2 separate regions of the Homo sapiens genome follow, and region 1 is linked to region 2. Evidence: promoter capture Hi-C in 16 types of primary human blood cells and fetal thymus (Javierre and others, 2016). All regions are on one chromosome and are shown on one strand. Each heading gives the region's core, a stretch centred on a gene start or on the middle of the fragment in contact. The rest is flanking DNA. Distances are from core to core; before and after follow the strand shown. Region 1 has its middle 21 kb from the start of MIR3130-1. Region 2 holds the start of CREB1 (cAMP responsive element binding protein 1).

Region 1 (6,554 bases), core at 3,328-5,827, 730 kb after region 2:
CTTGTCATACTCCTATTTTCTGTCTAGTCATACTCCTATTCACCGTTCTCAACTACTCATACATGACCTGCTCTTGTTTACACTGCCAGTTTACACTGTTTCTCCAAGCCATCACAGCTGATATCTCCTGGTGCTGTCCCCAAACTGCCACTCTTAACTCTTGAAGTAAATAAATAATCTTTGCTGGCAGGACTATGCTGAATCTCCTTAAGCACTCTCCAATCAGATATCCTGAGTCGTCCCAATTCTTAGACCTTTTATACCTGTTTTTCTCCTTCTGTTATTCCATTTAGTTTTTCAATTCATACAAAACCGTATCCAGGCCATCACCAATCATTCTATACGACAAATGTTTCTTCTAACAACCCCACAATATCACCCCTTACCACAAGACCTCCCTTCAGCTTAATCTCTCCCACTCTAGGTTCCCACGCCGCCCCTAATCCCGCTTGAAGCAGCCCTGAGAAACATCGCCCATTCTCTCTCCATACCACCCCCCCAAAATTTTCACCGCCCCAAAACTTCAACACTATTTTGTTTTATTTTTTTTATTAATATAAGAAGGCAGGAATGTCAGGCCTCTGAGCCCAAGCCAAGCCATCGCATCCCCTGTGACTTGCAGGTATACGCCCAGATGGCCTGAAGTAACTGAAGAATCACAAAAGAAGTGAATATGCCCTGCCCCGCCTTAACTGATGACATTCCACCACAAAAGAAGTGTAAATGGCCGGTCCTTGCCTTAACTGATGACATTACCTTGTGAAAGTCCTTTTCCTGGCTCATCCTGACTCAAAAATCACCCCCACTGAGCACCTTGCGACCCCCCACTCCTGCCTGTCAGAGAACAAACCCCCTTTGACTGTAATTTTCCTTTACCTACCCAAATCCTATAAAACGGCCCCACCCTTATCTCCCTTCTCTGACTCTTTTCTGACTCAGCCCGCCTGCACCCAGGTGAAATAAACAGCCATGTTGCTCACACAAAGCCTGTTTGGTGGTCTCTTCACACGGACGCGTGTGAAAACCAACATGGAGAAACCCCGTCTCTACTAAAAATACAAAATTAGTCGGGCATGGTGGTGCACGCCTGTAATCCCAGCTACTCAGGAGGCTGAGGCAGGAGAATCTCTTGAATCCGGGAGGCGGAGGTTGCGGTGAGCTGAGATCACACCATTGCACTCCAGCCTGGGCAACAAGAGCAAAAGAAACTCTGTCTAAAAACAAACAAAAAAGAGGAGTCCTGAATTGTTTAAATAAGGGAGAAGAATAACATTGATAACATTGTCAGATCTGGGTTTTAGGCAGAACCTTTTTATGGGTAGCAGAGACGACCAAAACAAGTACAAGTAGTCAATCAAAAGTCACCGATATGTCCAACAAGAGAGCCTGCTCTCCCCAGGACAGAGTGAAAGCCCAGTGGCCTCACAGGCACGAGTGTCTGGGAGCACTGCAGGAAGGAAGTCAGAATCCACTGGACTCCACAACTTCCTGATGAGTGAGAAAAATTCTGGAAAACTGTCAGCATTCTCTCAGAAGGTGAGCATACCGATTGCAGAGTATTTCTACCTTTCCAAGCTTGGCAATAGTACAAAAATGAGGTCGATTCTCTTCACTCTGTGTAACTCACACCACCAGATGCTGATGCCCTTAGACTCTTTCACAGCTACAGTTCCCCAAATCATTTATATCCAGAGGTCAGGCATATGGAGCTCATTAAATTCCATACAGCAACATTGTAACCATGTGAAACTTTTTGTTTGCAGTGCAATTTAATGTTGAATTTGATTTATGAGGCACTGCACATTCTTAGTCCTAGGATGACAGCATACACTTCTACAAGCTTAAGTCATGGTTTGGGGCAAGGGGGAAGGCCTTTGACCAGATGTTGGAATTGGAAATCTGGGCTTATGCTAAGCATTTGCGAAGAAGGGAGAGCACCACATCTTAGAGAAGGTCTATCCCAACTTGACTGTTATATCACTGAGGAAACCAAGACCTAGAGAATTTCTTTTCCTTTTTCTTTTCTTTTCTCTCTTTTTTTTTTTTTTGAGACAGGGTCTCCCTCTCTTGCCCAGGCTGGAGTGCAGTGGTGCGATCATGGCTCGCTACAGCTTCAACCTCCCAGCCTCGAGCAATCCTCCCACCTCAGCCACCTGAGTAGCTGGGATTACAGATGTATGCCACCAAGTCCAGCTAATTTTTGTATTTTTTTTGTAGAGACAGGGTTTCACGATGTTGTCCAGGCTGGTCTCGAACCCTTGGGCTCAAGCAATCTGCCCACCTCTCAAAGTGCTGGAATAACAGGCATCCTAGAGAATTTAAATGACAGAGGCAGTGGCTGGAACCCAGGTCTCCTGATTCTCAGCCCAGTGGCCCTCCTTCTCTCTCCCTTGCCTCTCTACTATTCAAAATACAAAAATGAAGAGAAAATGGGCCTTTCTTATTCATGCGGAAATTCATTCCAACTTGACAGAAAGGTACCCATGTAAAATGTATTGTTAACTTCATATCCTAGTATATAAATAAGAGAAAATCAATAAAGCATTTGTTTGAAAATGACTTGCTTTCTGTTTGGTTGGTACAAAGTTATATCATATATGATATATGGCTCTGGAATCAAATCTAAAAATTTAAATTACTTGCTCAAAGCCACATGGCTGATAAGTCTAAGTCTGAATTTTTTCATCTATAAAGTGGGCATTAATAATACTTACCCCAAAGTTGAAGTGTTTCATTTAATCAACCTTTGAGGAAAATGCTTAAAAGATAGTGGCTATTGTTGTATTTTATGTGGTATCTGTTGGTTTGGGCTTCAAATACTCTTCCCGGGAGACATGCCGTACACTTATTCCCATGATGCTGTCATTGTTCAAAATATTTGGATGCACTTTTCTTCTGGAACTGCCTTCTGAGTTAGTTCTTATCTGAAGAGAAAAATTAACTCTTCATGCCTATATTTAATCAAAAGGAATGTAACTTAGTTTTATCAACTTCATTCACCAAAGCTAGCTGGGAGGTACTTTTAACCATTTGTTTAAACCAAAGCCAGATACAAAAGATGAAGATTTGCCATGATTGAGAATTTGCCCACAAAATTTTGCTTCCTTAAGTGAAGGGGATACATATTTTACTTGCTGGACCGAGCTCAGAAACCTTGGGAAAGTCATAAGCCACGGAACCAAACCCTGTTCCAGAGCTGAGAAGGTGGAAAACGGGTGTGTGGATGACTCAAGGTCAGCCCTTGGGAAGCTGGAATTCTCTGGAACTTCTGAGAAAGAAAGACAGCCTCTCAGAAACAATTACATGGGAATTTTCACAAGCTGGGAAGATCCCTGTAGCTCTAACCAGGATTTGTTCTCATTCTGTGGGAGGAATGGAAGGAAAAAGAAGTCTTTGAGAGCCCTAAGCTCCTGAACTTGAATGCAAAGCAGGCTTTGGAAGTCAGAAGAGCACTGGGCCACTCCTATCTCGTCCTTGTTCAGGATAAATGTACCCCCTATACCATGCGTTTCCCCCAACACACACCACACACACACACACACACACACACACACACACACACACACACACACACACACCACTAAAGAATAGACTTCCTGCCTCTGTGCTCTACCAGAAACTTTCAGCATCTAGGGTTAGCATCTTGCCTTCCATTTGCACCTCAAACATTTCATTCTTCACGTTGTTATCATTATCACCCTATCATTACACTGCTGGTTAATCATGATTAAAACAATAAACAAATAATTTTTCCCTGGTGAGCATAAATAATTGCAGATGAATACATATTGTTCGGGCCCATGTAACATTATATGCTATTACAGACAGTATGAGAGGATGTTTTATTGTAAGAGATAATTTTTCCTAATTGTAATGTTTACTCCCTTCAGATTCTAACCTTCTGAAGGCCCAACAAAGTCACCTAGAGGGAGTTTGCAGCTCTTGCCTGCAGTTTAGGGAAAAGTGGCTTTTCTACTTGGTGATAACTCTAAAGTGAAAATGTGAAACCAAGTGGAAGAGGCCAGGGGGTGCTTTTTCTACCAGATGTTAAAAGAAAAAGAACACGCAGGATCTAAACTCTAGAGTGAGCCTCACTGCTGGGGGTGACAGAGCAAGAAGAAATCCAGGGGTTCATTCGATTAACTTGGAAGGCTCTTACTAGGGGACACTAGTTTATTGAACAGGCTGGGTCAGTAGCTCCAGCAGGCTGGAAACAGCTCCATCTTCTTCCCTCCCTTGCCCATCACACTGGCTCTGCCAGCTCTCCCTTCCCACCTCAGAGAGGCCATCTCCGGCATATGCCAGAGTATTTTTGGTTGCACATGGCTATTAGCAGAGCCTCATTTTAAGGTATTAAAAAGCTCATCACCTGATCTATTCTCAAAATATGCAGCTCTCACCCAATCTAAGATTCCTTCCTTTCTTCCAGCTCAGTAATGAGCAGCAGGGGGAGGAGGCTGTGGAATCTTCTTTTGCTGTTTGCCCCCCTTGCTCTGTTTTCTGCTCCTCCTGCCCCGCTCACTGTGCTGCCTCTGGCATCTCCAGGGCCAGGTGGGGAGGAGGGACTAGAGGTAAATGGGTCTATTCACTGGTGACCTTGCAGTCTGCGAGGATGCCCTTTGTGTGCTAGATGCTCAAGTGCTGGCTCCTCCTCACATGAGTGACTTTTGTGGGTTCTTAAGAGACACCCCTACTCCCACCTCTCTTTCCATGGCGTGTCTTTCTTACACCACAGCATTCCCTGACCTGACCCCCACAAGGCACTCTCAGGCTGACTGTGAAGACCCCATACAGCCTCTTTTTGCTGAGATTTCTGAGCTTTGGCAGGACGTCCTCTAGGACAGGTGCCTTTCAGGATGACTCAAGCCTGCTAGTTTCTTCAGCATTCGTTTAATCCACAGGAAATATTATGCATCCATGCCATCCCTTCTCCCCTGCAAAACTTGGAAGCCAAAAGCCTTCTTACAGCCACCTGTTTTTGCTCTGCCATCAGCAGCAGCTCCAGGCAGCCTTCTGCCTTTGGGCTTTTCCAGGCAAGAGTCAGGCTTCTATCTCCAGTCACCTTCCCACACCTCCTACTCTCACCTCGCACTCCCACCCCCGACCAATGTTTGAAGGGTCTACATCAAGCTCTCAAAGGAACTTGGAGTCCAGGCTTCTGGGTGTCACTTCATGAGTTGTGCCTCTACCCCACTGAGTGAACAAATCTAAGCCACCGAACATACCCTGTGGGATTGGGGTTATGCCCCCACCCTTCCTCTCCATACACTGGGCCCCATGCATGGCAGGTGGCTCTGTTAAAGATTACTGACCATTTTTCTCTTGAGACTATTGTAGCTTTTACAGCGCTAAAAATTTTAAGCATAACACCCTTCTCTACCATCATCTTAGGCAATTTACAGAGATAAATTTATGATTTTGCATCTATAGCACATGAAGTATGGATTTTTAAAGATTCATTAGAATATATAATTCTCACATAAAAACATTTATACTCATAAACAGTATTTCCATAAAGATGATCTCATTAGATATAAAGTTTATCTCTGGTGAATTAAAGTTAATCCTGAAAATCTTGTCAACCACACATAATATATGGTACCTAATGTATCTGATACATTCTGAAACAGATAAGTGGATGAAATATTTTTAAAGCACCACATCTAGTAAGGCAGCAGAGAATTAGAAACGGATTTTATTTCTTGTTCTTCAATATAGTAATTGGTGACCTTGAGAAATGCCATTTAACCTTTTCATGTCTCAATTTTCTCATCTATAAATAGATATAATCATCACAAAGACCCGCTGTGAGCAATAGATGAGATAATCTTGAGAGCTCTAAAGCTCTACATATAACAGAAAGGCATTATTGGGATTAGGGCAGAGGATCTGCAGCTCTGCTGTTGCCTTGAACAATTTCCATGATTCTGTGACTCACTTTTACTACCTGCAAAATAGACACCGGAAGGCGTCTCTCCAGTTTTCCTTAGAAGGCAGAGTCTGTATAAGAGAAAAAAGCTGATTTCAGGGTCCAGCAGATTTAATTAGCTGCACAACCATGGGCCAACTCTCGAGTGTTAGAGAGGATAATGATGACTACCTCACAGGGTTGTGAGAATCAAATGTCTTAAAGGAGAACAGTGCTTAGTAAATAGCTAACAGTGCTCAGCCTGTACAATTGTTAGAATCAATATTGGGTTTCCACTGAAAATTACCATGGGGTTACCTTGCCGTTTACTGCCTAGGTCCAGTCATTTCTGAATAAGATTAGTTGCTATGGTTACCTTCCCAAAACACCACAGTTGAAAACGTGTTGGAGATGGGAATCGATGGTAGGAGGCTTTAGCGGAGGACACAAAGCAACTTCAGCCACTGAGACATTTTAATACATGTAAACTCCTTCCCTTGGAAACCTAAGTCACATTTTGCCAAAATGGAAATGAACTCAGGAAGTGGACTTTCAGAAGTTCTGCATTTGGCCAGCCTCCTTCCCCCATCACCAGGCCCTCAAGGACAGGTGCGTTCTGGCCCTGAACCAGCTCCAGAGCATCTCA
Region 2 (7,036 bases), core at 1,809-4,308:
ATGTTCCAGGTGAATGTTCAAGTATTAATGAATACAAGTTTGAAGTTTCACCTGGAATTGCTAAGAATCACAAATTATGAATGTATAAATAATAAAACAGGCCGGGCGCGGTGGCTCACACCTGTAATCCCAGCTACTCGGGGGGCTGGGGCAGGAGAATTGCTTGAACCCGGGAGGCGGAGCTTGCAGTGAGTGAGCCGAGACCAGCCCACTGCACTCCAGCCTGGGCAATAAGGGCCAAACTCCGTCTCAAAAAAACAAATAAATAAAAATAAAAATAAAAAATACAATTTAAAATATCTCTCGGGCAAGACTAAAGAAAGAACTTATCAGTAAACTTTTTTTTTTTTGAGATGGGGTCTCGCTGTCACCAGGCTGGAGGGCAGTGGCGCGATCTCGGCTCACTGCAATCTCCACCTCCTGGGCTCAAGAGATTCTCCTGCCTCAGCTACCCTAGTAGCTGGGATTACAAGCACGCGCCACGACACCCAGCTAATTTTTGTATTTTTAGTAGAGACGGGGTTTCACCATGTTAGCCAGGATGGTCTCGATCTCTTGACCTCGTGAGCCGCCTGCCTCGGCTTCCCAAAGTGCTGGGATTACAGATGTGAGCCACCGCACTCGGCCATCAGTGAACAATTTTTTAAAAATCTCACAAATGAAGAGTCATATATTCTTTCTTTTTTTTTTTTTTCTTTGAGACGGAGTCTTGCTGTGTCGCCCAGGCTGAAGTGCATGGCACGATCTCAATTCACTGCAACCCCAGCCCCCCGAGTAGCTGGGATTACAGGCGCGTGCCACCACACCCGGCTAATTTTTGTATTTTTAGTAGAGATGGGGTTTCATCATGTTGGCCAGGCTGGTCTTGCACTCCTGACCTCAAGTGATCCGCCCGCCTCGACCCCCCAAGTGCTGGGATTACAGGCCTCAGCCACCGCGCCCGACTTATATTCTTAACAAGAAAAAAAATTCTACTCTACTGATAGTGGCTTGCGGAACAACATAAAGGAAAAATGGTAAGCTACCATTATCAATACTATAATTTTTTCAGTGCTCGGAAATAAAATCATTTCCCCAATCTTTATAGAAAACCTGCCTTTATTGCCTCTTCTTAATTTTCTTGGAAATGACAAATTGCCAATGTGGTCTTTTAAAGAGAAGCAATACAGCAAAGCACGTTTTGGAAAAGTGACTAGAATACAGAAAAATAAGACAGTGCTTCTGCTGCCAATCAATATTTGTTCTTAACCAGAAGGTTTGTACGTATCAATCACAATGCAATCATACAGTGACAGACAAGTATTTTTAAAACAAACTTGTTCGTCTTTTGCACCACCTAAAATAACTGTTCGGGGCTTTACTTTTAAATCACGAAATGAGCCATAAATGTAAAAGATTTCAATAGGCAGCAATCAAAAGTATCTTCTACTAAACCTTCAGAAGTTAGACGCCAGCTGAGGTTAGAATTATAACTTGAGATGGTATTACAAACTTAAATAGGTCATACCGCACGTCCTTCAAAAACTGTCTTTTAATTTTTAATGTGTCAATGACTTTTCTGCTGTCCTCTTTTCCCAACAGGCGAAGAAAAAATACAGCTTGTGGCTTAAATTGTCAATCTCAAGACGGGGGTTACCTACTGCATGAGACAAATAATGGATACTTTAATGTCTATTTTTAGTAGTAGTATTAAATCAATCTCTCATTAAAGTTCACACAGAAATTCGTGGGAAATATGGTAGGGGGAGTGGGACGGAGGGTGAGGGGAGATCCAGATGACCCAAACGCGGTTGGCAAGGTTGCACCCCGCGAAATGATGTAAAACAAGAGTACATCGGCTGATACTCGTTCCAACGAAGTGTTTCAGAATGATAGATCTCAAGTGATGATTACCTTATTAAAAAGGGTTAAAACCGAAACTGTTTTCAAACACCAGCTTCCCTTTTATAAGATCCCAACAGTTTAAAAAGTTATTATAAATGTTTTTCTTAGCACCCTTTCTCCCAAAAAGCATGCATTTCCATGACTGACTTTAAAAAAAAAAAAAAAGCAAAGGGGTGAGGGAGTCAAAAATTCCCCCCAAAAGCACAAGCTCTCATCTCTCAACTAAGCAACACAGGGCAGAAAGCAGCATTTCCTCAACGGTGTAGGAGCGGGGGGGAAAGGGCACGAATAAAATACAGCACGAGAGGAAACCTTGGGTTTCGAACTTTATTGCACAAAGAGTGGAGAGAAGAGTAGGTCAGACGTTGCAGCTCTTCCCCTTGCGAAGCGGGCATGGCAGGCACCGAAGCCACCGGGAAGGCAGCAGGCACCTTCACCTCCTCTGCCCTCAACTGTCGCCTTCTTCCTCCTCCATCCCCCACCGGCACCTAGGCGGCGGCTGCCCCGGAGGCCCGGCCGGGTCGGGCCGGGGGCGAGGCGGGCGGCGGGGGCCGGACGAGCGAGCGGCGCGGGGGGCAGCGCCGGGCCGAGCGGGCGGCCTCCCCCGGGGCGGCTCCGGGTTCCCGGCTCCGCGCCCGGCCCGGCGGCGGCGGCGGGAACGCGGGCGCCAGCTCGCCGCGGCCGGCCGCCCGCACACACCCCCGGCCGCCGGCTCCCACCCCGCCCGCCGCCCGCCGCCCGCCGCCCCCCGCCATGAGCGCCGCCGCTGGCTGCAGGCAGAGTCGCTGCCGCCCCGGCCGCCGCTGGCTCCAGTCCGCCGCCATTATTCTTTGTTCGCTGCGAGCGGCGGCGATGTTGTGGGGCTCGGGCGGAGGCTCCATCTTTACCGCGGCCCCTCCTGCGAGGGGAAGGCCCCAAGCGCGGGTGTCCGGCGCCTCCCCGTCCCCCCTCCGTCCCCCCGGCTCTCTCTGGCTCCTGCCTCCTCCTCCTGCTCCTCTTACCGGTGGTACAAGCTCCTCCGTCACTGCTTTCGTTCACGGCCCGGATCTCGCTGGAGTTTTATTCTCTCCCCCACGTAACACACCGCGTCAAACTACACCTCCGCCGCGTCACTCACCAACACTCCGCTTCTCCCAGCCGCCCGGGCCACAGGCAGCAGCAGCCGCCGCCGACTGAGGAGCCGCAGCCAGGGAGCCAGCCAGCGCCGCCCAGTGCCGAGTGCGCAGCGGCCGCGCACGGAAACAGCCGAGCTAGGCCCGGAGCAGCTCGAGCGGCCCCGCCCCCGCGCTGGGGACGGAACTTGCCGAAGACCTTCGGGTTTCTTCGGGCGACGAGAAGGGGTTCCGCGGGGAGAGGGAAGGCGAAGGCGGGCTGAGCCCGGCGCCGGGAGGAGTGGTCTAAACTCCACCGCGGCTTTCGCATCGGTAAAGCCGGCAGCGGAAATTTGAAGGAGGAAGCGGGGTTTGTGTGTGGCCCAGTGGGGGAATTCCCGAGGGGTGTCGGCGACTTGGTGGAAACCCCCGCTCAGGCCTGCCCCTGCGGCGGTGAGCGGCGGGCTAGAAGGCGGCTGCGGCTGCCCTGGCTCTGCTCTTGACCGCCGCCAGCCCCGGGAACTTTCCGACGCCGCCGGGAGACGGGGGACGGGCAGCCCGGGCTGGGACGCGGCCGGACCGCTGGAGCCGTGCGGGCTGGGGAAGAAGGTCTGCTGCGCCTCTGCCAACGTCCCGGGGCCTGGGACCCGGGGGCGTCGTGGGACCCCCGTGGGGACGGGTTTTCCTTTCCGAGACTCCGCGGAGAAACCTGGCGGCCGCCAGCGGAGCATGCTTTTCCGGGGGGCGCTGGCCCCGATACTGTGGCACCTTGCGGGGCTCTGCCCGGACCATGGCTGACGTCGACGGCCCTCGGAGGCCTCCAAGCCACACAACCTGCCCGGACCCCTGGAAATATGCCCCATCCTACCTCCCCGCCTTTCTCCAGACAACATCCTGTGTCGCTTTCTTTCCTCAGCCTGTTTTCTACAGCAGGGATTCGCACCCACTGCACCCTAAACCCAGCAGGGGGACTTCCGTGGCTGGAAACTACTGAATTGTTCTTTCAGAGGTCTCTCAGGACGGCACCACTAGGTCCCCATTCTCCTTGATAGTGAACTCTGCAGCCCTCTCCTTGGGGTTTCAAGTCTTTTTTTTTTTTTTTTTTTTTTTAATGAGACGGAGTCTAGCCCTTGTCGCCCAGGCTGGAGTGCAGTGGCACGATCTCGGCTCACTGCAACCTCCGCCTCCCGGTTTCGAGCGATTCTCCTGCCTCAGCCTCCCTAGTAGCTGGGATTACAGGCACCTGCCACCACACCTGGCTAATTTTTGTGTTGTTAGTAGAGACGGGGTTTCACCATGTTGGCCAGGCTGGTATGGAACTCCTGACCTCAGGTAATCCACCCGCCTCGGCCTCCTAAAGTGGTGGGGTTACACGTATGAGCCACCGCGCCCGGCCTCAAGTCTTAATCATTCTTTTTCTGTCCTTTAAAGGAGACGTGTCTTTAGGAAGCAGAGAGGGTTCGATTCTGGACTCCGCCCATGACTCACTTCTCTTGTAAAGAAAGAGTTGTCCTTCCTGGTACTCCAGGTACCCTACTGTTTTCTTATGGACTTTGCCCTTAACGAGTCTCCTTTCCTTCTGTTACTCTCAACCTTTCCTTCTCTACCGGCTCTTTCTTACTGGTATTTAAACATGCTTAAGTCTTTCAATTCTTTAAAAAGATTTCTCTTCTCCCTAAATTGCTCTCCAACAACTGCAGCTGTCTCTTACCCCATGGACAGTCTTTCATGTCCCACCTCCCAGCCCTCTCCAGTGTCCCCACCGCTCACCTGAAGTGGCTCTGAATTGTCCACAGACAAGCTTCATGACTGTAAATGCAGCGGATCATTTTCAGTCCTCATTTTACAAGCCCTCATCCCAGTATTTGACGCGATTGACCACAGTTGCTTCCAAATACCCTCTTCCCTCTGGTCTTATGTCCCAGGTTTCCTCCCTACCTGAGTTTGCTCTTTAACAACCAGCTCCTCCTTGATCTACCTCTTACACATTGGAATCATGCTGAGCTGAACCCTGGCCCTCTTACTGAGTCTCCCCATACACTTTCCTAGGTGGTCTTATGCTCTCCCAGCAGCATCAAATACCCTCTGTCAAAGACTCTTCAATCCATAACTCAAGCCTAGATCTTGCTCTGGAATCCTACATTCATAGTTCCCAGCATACTGCCTTTGGTACACTTTCATTTGGATGACTTAGGGCATTTCAAACTCAACCCGTATATCATAATTCCTTCAAAACGCTCCTCCCATAGTCCCTGGTTCAGTAAAGGGTATCTTAACATCTACCCAGTTCATGCCAGAAACCTAGCACACCTCCAACACACAGCAGAATCACCTACATCTGTCTGCTCCCTGGAAAATTGGATTTGTGACCTCTCTCTGTTCCCATGACCATTTTTTCATTCCCATTCTAGTCTAAACCACTGTTGCCTCTTGCTTGAAGTCCCACAGTAACCCATTCAGGTCCTCCAAAACTGCTCTTGCCTCGTTCCAATACATTTGCCATACTGCTGCCAGAGTAATTTTTTAAATATAAATCTGATCATTGACCTGCTTAAATTCCTCCAGTGGTCTCCCTTTGCTTACCACACATTGTCTAAGCTCCATTATCTGTACTTGTCTTTCTCTCCAGCCTCTCCATCTGTCCCCCTAGCTGCCTGCACTCCTGCCATAGTATTTTAATTTTTTCCAGGCTCTCCTCTTTTTATTCCCTACTGTAGGCTCTCACTTCAGGGCATTTACACATGCCCTTCCCTTCCCCTGGAATTTTTTTCTGTCACCCATTCCTCCTACTTAACTGTAACTTATCACTTTCTTTTCCAATTCCTACTTCTCATTATTTGTTTAGTGTCCATGTAATTGTGCAGGTAAGGACCACGTCTGTCTTGTTCACTACCAGCTTTTCCTCTCCCTAGCAACAGCACAATGTCTAGAATATAGTGGTACTTGTTAGGTATTTATCGAATAAATAGTGAATTTCTGAGTGGTCCCGGGCAAAGTTTTCTCAACATTTGAATTCAAATCCTGGCTCTCAGTGAGTTCAGGTTGCCGTAGTAAAGTACCATATAGACTGGTGGCTTATAAACAACAGAAATGTATTTCTCATAGCTCTGGAGGCTGGATATCTGAAATCAGGCTGCCAACATGGTCAGGTTCTGGTGAAGGCCCTCTTCAGGGTTGTAGATGGCTGTTTTTTCCCTTTACCTCACAATGCAGAAAGAGAGCAAGAGCTCTCGGGTTGCTTTTATAAGGCACTAATCCCATTCACAAGGGGTTTACCTCCCAAAGGCCTCATCTCCTAATACCATCACATTGAGGGTGAAGATTTCAAAAATACGAATTTGCAGGAGACAGGGGTGGGGGTGAATTCATTGCACTGGCTCAGCCACTTATTAGCTAATGACTTTGGGCAAATTGTTCACTCTTGTGCCTCAGTTTTCCCATCTGTAAAATAAAGATGATAATAGCACCTCATAGTGTTATTGTAATGATTACGTGACATAATACATGTGAAGTATACTTGGAACAATGTTAGGAAAAATGTTGCCTATTACTAGCTTTTACTTGGATAGCTTATCCTCGTGTCAAATACGTTTTCAAAATTGAGTTCATCTTCCTGCTCTTCTTACCGTGGCTCTATACATGATATCAAAAAACTTTGGAATTATTTACTCATAACCTATAATTATCACCCACCAAATATGGTGAGTTTTTATTTAAAAATGTCCTCATATTCATTCTTCCTTTTTATATACACTAACCTTCATTTAGACTCTATTATCATTGATTATTTTGCTAACTTCCTAGGTGTCTTCTAACTGGAGGCTAGCTTTCCCTATTCATTTGGGCCCTTACTGTCAGACCAGTGGGCCTCAAACAATTATTAAAACATATATTCTTCTTGACTTCTGCTCAAATGACCTCCGTTCCCACCTAACTTTGTTCATTCATTTATTCAATCATCCATTCATTCCAATGCAAGTTATTTTACTACTAACATTTTGGGTATACTCTAGATTTTCAGCCTCTCTACTTTGACATTTCTCTCTTGGATATTCTCTCTT

Evidence for each region. Contacts are between HindIII fragments. The CHiCAGO score rates a contact against its expected background, and 5 or more counts as called.
Region 1: a contact is called between a fragment that was not itself captured here and the fragment with the promoter of CREB1 in region 2, in 16 of 17 cell types (M2 macrophages, naive CD4 T cells, total CD4 T cells and 13 more). The highest score is 16.4, in M2 macrophages.

Annotation. Positions count from the first base shown.
Region 1 is chr2:206,801,307-206,807,860 of GRCh38, reverse strand. No RefSeq gene overlaps it. Among named protein-coding and RNA genes, the nearest start is that of MIR3130-1, 21 kb to the right of the region's middle. RefSeq lists an enhancer at 301-1,128. The HindIII fragment of the contact is 5,469 bases long and covers 1,843-6,554 here.
Region 2 is chr2:207,525,984-207,533,019 of GRCh38, reverse strand. It overlaps CREB1 (cAMP responsive element binding protein 1), which reads right to left and starts at 3,058. Exons shown (of 8, transcript NM_004379.5): 1 at 2,886-3,058. LOC124907970 (a long non-coding RNA gene) reads left to right here and starts at 3,423. Exons shown (of 3, transcript XR_007088060.1): 1 at 3,423-3,584; 2 at 4,407-4,503. RefSeq lists enhancers at 340-839, 840-1,341, 2,930-3,029, 3,290-3,489 and silencers at 1,750-1,919, 2,630-2,679, 2,710-2,839, 3,510-3,689. The HindIII fragment of the contact is 5,804 bases long and covers 1-4,778 here.